Linked DNA regions of Homo sapiens: region 2 is linked to region 1. The links are contacts of gene promoters, found by promoter capture Hi-C in human tissues and cell types (Jung and others, 2019). All regions are on one chromosome and are shown on one strand. The core of a region is centred on a gene start or on the middle of the fragment in contact, and the rest is flanking DNA. Distances in the headings are between cores, read along the strand shown.

What was found. Contacts are between HindIII fragments. The study calls those that stand out against the background at their distance.
Region 2: a fragment that was not itself captured here is called in contact with the fragment with the promoter of DYRK4 in region 1 in 1 of the 25 tissues and cell types used here (mesenchymal stem cells).

What each region holds. Positions count from the first base shown.
Region 1 is chr12:4,560,046-4,564,208 of GRCh38, reverse strand. DYRK4 (dual specificity tyrosine phosphorylation regulated kinase 4) reads right to left here and starts at 2,001. Exons shown (of 15, transcript NM_001394779.1): 1 at 1,926-2,001. The coding sequence starts at 1,963. RAD51AP1 (RAD51 associated protein 1) reads right to left here. Exons shown (of 9, transcript NM_006479.5): 9 at 4,162-4,163. RefSeq lists a silencer at 1,872-2,166. The HindIII fragment of the contact is 2,169 bases long and covers 1,548-3,716 here.
Region 2 is chr12:4,517,072-4,520,723 of GRCh38, reverse strand. FERRY3 (FERRY endosomal RAB5 effector complex subunit 3) reads left to right here. Exons shown (of 14, transcript NM_020374.4): 7 at 1,844-1,950; 8 at 2,469-2,666; 9 at 3,535-3,652. Among named protein-coding and RNA genes, the nearest start is that of FERRY3, 20 kb to the left of the region's middle. The HindIII fragment of the contact is 4,640 bases long and covers 1-3,652 here.

The DNA.
Region 1 (4,163 bases), core at 752-3,251:
TACTGATTTATTAAACACTAGGTCTTATTTCTTCTATCTAAATGTATTTTAAGTCACACTCATTTCTGCCAGAGAATTCCTTGGACCCTCTGCATATATCCCTGAGACTCTTGAGGGTTCACTGACTCCCAGACTCTAAAGAGCTAGAAGAGGTTTTGGAGACCATGTCATCCATTTTCCCACCCTGGGGAAGAATCCTCTTTCTATGGTATTCCTGGCAATCACTCTGTCTATGCTGGAATATTTCTATGACAGAGTGCACTGTTTTTCTAGGCAACCCATTTCACACTCAACTGTTAATTTACATAGGGTTGGTACTTGATATTTCTTGGAAGAATAAACTATATTGAGCAAAATTTCCTCCACTGATCCTTGCTATCCTCTGCAGAGTACCAAGGAACAAATCTATCTCTTTTCTACTCAAGAGTTCTTGAATGTTCAAAAGTTGAGTAGAAAAAAGCTTTCTCTCCCTTGCATCTCCTCATCTCCAGGCATTCTGTGAAGTTTTTTCAAACCTCTCTTCATGTGATGGCACACCCAGGCCTGACAGAGAGAGCCTGCCTTGTGGTTGTTCCTATTTTCCAGTTCTTTGTGATCTCAAAGTAGCTACAGTTTCTAGAGTCTGGATTATGTTCTACTCATTGCTAAGTCAGGCAGCACGACCATATTCTTTGATGTGGTCATTGCATTTCTATGAATGCAGCCTCCACCAGCATTTGCTCTTTGGGGAGCCATCACAACACACTCACGATGGGCTTAGAGTCAGCTAAAACCACTAAATCCCAGCACTGGGTCCTCCACACGCTTGAGGACTATGCATTCTAGCCAAGTTGCAGGCAACAATATGTGGAGTTGGAGAGGGCAAAGTCAGGGAAGAGTGGCTGGCATATTGCTAGAGAGTCCCTTCCGATTTACCTCTGCTTTCTCCATAAGGACCAAAACAAACAAGAGAAACAACAGATTTAAGTAACAGAAACAATAAGGTAGAGTGCATGTTTGAAGAATTTCTTCGAACTCCTAGGTTTTACATACCGACCACATGTAGGTGATCAAATCGCTCAAGCAAGACAAAGGACATTTTCATTTGTTGTTTCCACGGTTTGAACTTTTCCACTAAATGGCCTCCTGCTTTTGCCGAGTCTCCACTTAAGCCTGGACAGTGAAGCTTGAATTAATATTGGTGATGCTGTCCGTTGCTTAAGACATGTCAGAGGGGTCACGGTTTTCCTAAGCTTTGAGGGGCTGCTGGACATTTCAAATGCAGCAAATGTCACAGAATAGCCTTTAAAAACCCTCAAATTGTGCATTGTTCATCTCTTTTTTAAGGAAAGATTTGCTAATATTGGGAATTTCCTGAGTGGCAGCTCTGGGTGTGTGATCTACACACACCTTCGCGCGCTTTTGTGTCAGGGGCTGGGCCCTGGTTGAGCACAGAGGTGCCCGGGCATATGGGCTGGGTGGGAACATGAGTAATGCCTGCCAGAGCCTCATCCACGCGAGGCGTGTGGTCGTGGACCCACTTACGACTACCAAGAGGACATGCAGTAAAGAAGAGAAAGAAAGGGAGGAAGAAAGTCTGGCGTCCCAGTGAGGGCTGGAAGCACAGTTCCAGGATAGGTCTGCTGAGTTCCTCAGAACCCCTCGCTCCCTGTCCTGCACTCAGCTGGAGTCGCCGATGCGACAGCATCTTAACATGGAAGTATACTGACGTCGGATTCCGGGGATGCAGCTGCTGCAAAAACTACAACTGTATTTTCTTGTCCGCGCACCACAGCCCGCCTCTCTCTGACCCACATTCCCCGGTCAGCTCTTGCATTCTGCACGCTTTTCATTCTCCCCCCACGACCCCGTCGACCAGAAGCTTCGTCGCCTGCCTCGTACTCGCGCCTGACTGCTCGTGAAGTACGAGCCTCCGCGGCCCTTACTTTGTTCCGGTGCGGATAGGCGGCGGGAGGAGCTGCATGAGGCCGGCGCTGACCGCCCGCCGCTGCGGGAGGCTGTGAGAGCCCGGCAGAGGGCAAGGGACGGCCACGCCCTCCTCCCGTCGCTATAGAAACGGCTCCCGCCCTTTTTATGACTCCAGAGCTGGAAGGGCTTTCTCAGGCTGTGGTCCCAAACCACCTTGCAGAGTAGCAGCCTGAAGAACATACTCCTCGTCCTCCTACTCGCATTCTCTTGCCCCAGTTCTTTAAAGTATAGGGCAAGAATTGAACAAAATCCCAGCATAAAGAACTTAAAGTTGGTTGCCCAGACCGGACACATGAAATTATCCCTACTCTCTCCCCTTCTTCAAGCGAAGCATGTGGTTATCAGAATTACATCACAGAAGTTCTGGCCGGGCGCGGTGGTTTTACACCTGCAATCCCAGCACTTTGGGAGGCCTAGGCAGACCACTTGAGGTCTGGAGTTCGAGACCAAACTGCTCAAAGTAGTGAGACCCCCCCGCCCCTGTCTCTATTTAGACATTTTTTTCTGTAATCCCAGCACTTTGAGAGGCCAAGGCGGGTGGATCACGAGGCCAAGAGATCAAGACCATCCTGGCCAACATGGTGAAACCCCGTCTCTACTAAAAATACAAAAATAAGCGGGGCGTGGTGGTGCGTGCCTGTAGTCCCAGCTACTTGGGAGGCTGAGGCAGGAGAATCGCTGGAACCCGGGAGGCGGAGGTTGCAGTGAGCCGAGATCGCGCCACTGCACTCCAGCCTGGCGACAGAACGAGACTGCATCTCAAAAAAAAAAAAAAAAAAGAAAAAAAGAAAAAGAAAAAGAAAAAAAGTAAGTACATAGCAAAAGTTCTGGGTAAAATCCATATATCAGCTGAACACTTTTTGAGTGCTTACTCTGCACCAGATTGTAGAAAGCATGAAAAGGGAAATTTGTAATTGAGTGGCAGTAGGTTGACCTGGAGGTGCACAGTCTGGTCCAGGCAGAAAAGACATTCAAATGAAGCTTTCTGAAAGAGCTGAGTTGAATCTGAGTCTTCAAGGACAGGCAGTAGTTGTCTACGTAAAGGAGGCAAGTCCTATTCTGAAGGCCAGAGCCATAGAAAAGCTTGGTACCATTGTGCCAGCACCCAGTTTAGTGGGGCAGGGATCAAAGTTGCACGTGGGCAGAGACAAGGTTGAAGCAGCAGGAAAGGGGGAGTCAGACACCAAGTAGGCTATGAACTCGACCAGGGTAAGGTGTGTATGTGCAGACTGCAGAGGGGTGTTCATGCTGACTTTATTTTATAAAACCCTCTGTGGCAATAACAATGGAAGTAGGCCCGAGTAGGTTAAGAATCAAGGCAAGGATGCCTGTTAGAAATAGTGAGTGATGATGTTTCAGAGTAAGGGAGAGCACATGGAAGAGTAGTTTTGAGAAATTTAGGAAATGGAGTAAGACTTGGTGACTGGATGTGAAAGTCGAGAGAAGACTCAATCCCAGGATGACACCTTTGGCACCTGCAGTGATGGTGGTGCCATTCATTTACCAACAGAAAACACAGGAGAGATGTCAGGGGTAGGAGGAGACGTTGAATTTAACAACTGATCTGCTACATCAAATTGTCAGTGGACCATCCACAGGTTCTGTTGTCAAGAGCATGGTATAGGGTACAGACCCTGACTTGGCAGTCACTGTCACATAAGTGACCCCTGGAGTTTGCATAGAACATGAAACTGGTAAGACAAGTAGGTAAAGGTGACACAACAGATTAGAAAGCTGCAAAATAATGAAGAGTAGGCATGGAGATGGGAAGAAATGACAAAGAAATGTGTCACATGAGCCAAGGAAATCAAATGTTTTCATCAGAGTATAATGAATAGGGTGTATAAGATTAGGTGAGAAAATTGTACACTGGGTTTGGCAACATAAAGGTATCAGTGCTTTCAGCCAGGCTGGTTTTAACATACTTTGAGGTAATTTTCAAATCCCCTGATAAACTATAAAGAACACGGCAAAAACAGGTTATTGAGCTGGTGCCAGATGATTAATCAATTATATCAGTACCTAATATACAGTAGGCTCTTATGTTTATTGTTGATCTACACCAAATAGAGTACCTCAGTGCTATGTAACTGGAAAATATGTTTTTAAAAAGGGGACAGGTGGGGCAGGTTAGGGGGCTGGTATATGACACTATAAAAATATACGTTAGATAAAAGAAGTGTACAACAGCAATA
Region 2 (3,652 bases), core at 212-2,711, 43 kb after region 1:
GTTCTTGAGTGGTGATTCTAAGATTTTGGTGCATCCATCACCCGAGCAATGTACACTGTACCCAATGTGTAGTCTTTTACCCCACTTTTATCCCAGCTTGGTTTCGTGTCTGTCAGTACCTTCAATGTACCACCGGCTTCATTTTCTACTGGTGCTACTTTGTGCTTAGAACGGCACTTGGGGGTCCAGGAGGATTTTTCTCTGTCTCTCTGCTCCATCCCTTGCTTTCAGCAGCCTTCGCATGCCAGAGCTGCAGAGTGGAGTCTGCCTCCATACTTTTGCTCTGCCTCCCAGCAGTAGGCTTGTTACTTGTTACTTGAATCTAGGCTCATAGTTGGGGGTCCGGAAGGTCACTTTGTTCAACTCTTCTCCATCTTTGTTGTCTTTGTCCACTCCCGGTTTGGTCAAGCCTCGTGTATCTTGATTCTCAGCATTTCTGCCTGTGCCCTTGAGAAGGCTCTCTTGTCTCCTGCCCTCAGTGTTTTCTGGAAATACCTGATGGAGGCCAGTGGAAAAGAGTTTGCAAGTTCATGTGCCTGTGGCTCCGACCTATTCTAACTTGATATGCTAGCCCACTTGGCCTTCAAGAATCTGTTAAAATTTTAGCTGCTTTCTTTTTACCCCCTTGTATGACAGCATCCTATTTCAGCTATGCTGTAACAAAGATGAAACTCCTTATGTGTCCTGTCTGTCCTTGGAGGTATATGTCACGGTTTGGAATTCAGTTTACTAGGTTGCCTTATGATCACAAATCTTTGATGGACTCCAGAAAAGTATGATTTTGTAGATCAGCAGTCCTCTGAGCCTTTTTGGCACCGAGGACCAGTTTCACAGAAGACAGTTTTTTCCAGGAGAGCTGGAGAGGGTTTGGGGATGAAACTGTTCCACAAGGAGCACACAACCTCGATCGCTTGCATGCGCAGTTCACAATACAGTTCACGCTCCTATGAGAACCTAATGCTGCCGCTGAGCGGATGGGAGGTGGAGCTCAGGTGGTAATGCTCACTCGCCTGCTGCTCACTTCCTGCTGTGCGGCCCGGTTCCTAACAGGCCTGTACGGGGAATTGGGGTCCCCTGCTGTAGATTATCTGGCTAGATTTAAATTTACCGTATTTACTAATGAAGTCAGTCATTGAGTCTAATGGGGCTGTTGGGATTAGCCCCAAAAATTTAGTCAGGGAAATGGATGACTCGTACAGACTTGTATCATCCTCAGCATATACCACTGTTGGAATTGAACGGTGATACGGTTATTGCTCTTTTGTGGAAGTCTTCTCAGGAACTATAAAGAGGAGAGCAAAAAGAAAGGCAGTTTAGTGGGAGGAGAATGTTGGAGGTAAAAAAGAAAACAAACAAGAAATGGTAAAAGTAAAGGGTGTGTATACATCAAAATGAACTTCATCTTTTTTATTATCTACTTTATTTGACTTTAAATTTTTATTGCTATCACTTCATCTATTTTCTGATTTTGCCTAGGGCTAGCCCTGGTATAGGATGTATTATATATTTTAAAATACAATGTGATTTTAAAGTAATAAGTTAATCGCTTCATTTAATCATTCTCTTAGGCTGCTAAAAGTGTTAAATGGCAATATATTAATTGACATTATAATGATTGAAAATAATAATCTGCTTTATTTATTGTGAGGAAATGAAAGAACAAGTGGGAATTTTAGAACCTGTTGGTGCTTACCTGTCTTACTTGTCACCATGGATTAAGGATGAGTTTAGGAAAAAATTAAGCAAGACTTTCAGCTGTTCAGTTTTCTCTCATTATAAAGCTTTCCTTTAAGAAAAGTTTTTGACAAACATAAAAGTATATCAATAATTTTATTACTTTTAGTGAGGAAATTAAAGTTCAGCCAAGTCAGTTCAGAGAATCTGTAGAAGCAATTGGAAGGATTTATGAGGAACAGAGAAAGTTAGAAGAAAGTTTTACCATTCACTTAGGTAAGTGTGTTAATTTTTTTGCAGTTATAATTTATTGTAACTTCTGAAACTATTTTTTAATTATTATTTTTTTAAAATAATAGAGAAAAGGTTTCGCTATGTTGCCCAGGCTGGTCTTGAACCCCTGGGCTCAAGCAATCCACCCACCTTGGCCTCCCAAAGTGCTAGGATTACAGGCATGAGTCACCGTGCCTGACCGCTGCAACTTTTTTTATATGCTGTAAGAGAAAAATTCCTAACATGTGAGTAGAGTGTACCTATGTTATTTTTAATTCCAAATTATGTTTTACTTTAAGAAAGACTATATTTTATTGGCTTTAAGTTTTGTATATTTATATAATGTTTTTTGCAGATAGATTAAACTGAAAAAGTCATTAAAATGGGAAGTTGCAAGGCCCATTTTTAATTATTTTGTGGTACAGATTTATCTGGATTCTTGCCATAGAGATTTGCATCTTGTTATACTGGACTTTCTGTAGCTGCTTAAGTATCTTTCCTGGACTATTGCCTACCCCCAGGAGCCCAGTTGAAGACCATGCATAATTTGAGATTGCTGAGAGCAGATATGCTGGACTTCTGTAAGCATAAAAGAAATCATCGAAGTGGTGTGAAACTTCATCGGCTCCAAACAGCTCTGTCACTTTATTCTACATCTCTCTGTGGCCTGGTTTTACTAGTAGATAATCGAATTAATTCATATAGTGGTATTAAAAGAGGTAAGTTAACATCATACACATTTATTTTGTTAAATTTCATCCTGTAACACCATTCTTACAAAGAAAGGAATTACAGGGAAAATGAAAAAAAATTTTAATCACCTTGACATCCAAGTAGACCAAACAAACATACCCAGCCATAGTTATTTTATTTCAAACTGTAGCATCGATAGAGTGCTTCATATTTATTTTTCTTAAAATGCTATTATAAATAATGTTTTTATAGAATTCTCATTACGAGGTAAAACAAAAAGAGCAATCACATGTTTTCAGTTTAGAAGCAAATTCTGGCTTGGTGATTTTTAGCTCATCCATTTGTCTCTCTCTCTCTCTCTCTCTCTCTCTCTGTCTATATATATATATATATATATATTTTAATAACCTACCTCTTAAATTTGCTAGGTAAAATTCTACCTTCCCTCTTAGTACAATTCACTTTTTATGATTATTTCTAAATTTGTAAATATATAAAATGTAGAATATATAAAATATATGAAACGTATACTTGTTTTTGAAAGAAGCTTAAATAGAATTTATTTCCCCTCATAAATATAAGAACCTTCTTATATTTTGTAGCACCTTTTGGGGTGGATTATGATGAAAGTATTATTTAAAGAAGACCTGGAATTACATTAACAAAGAAATGTCAATATAATTAACTCTTTTGAGTGTTAGAGAGGTTAAGTCTCTAATCAAAACAAAATTGCTGTGCCCTAACTTAAGGCATAATTATTTAAAAGACAAGTATAAGAAATCTTATTAAGAAAAATAAGTATTATTTTCTTTTTCTACTAAATCTCATTGTAAGTAAATACTAAATATTTGATAGTTCGCATTTAGAAGTTTGTAAATGTTTTGGGTCCCTTAGATTTTGCCACAGTTTGCCAAGAATGCACTGACTTCCATTTCCCCCGAATTGAAGAGCAATTAGAAGTTGTCCAACAGGTGGTACTTTATGCTAGAACCCAGCGCAGGAGTAAATTGAA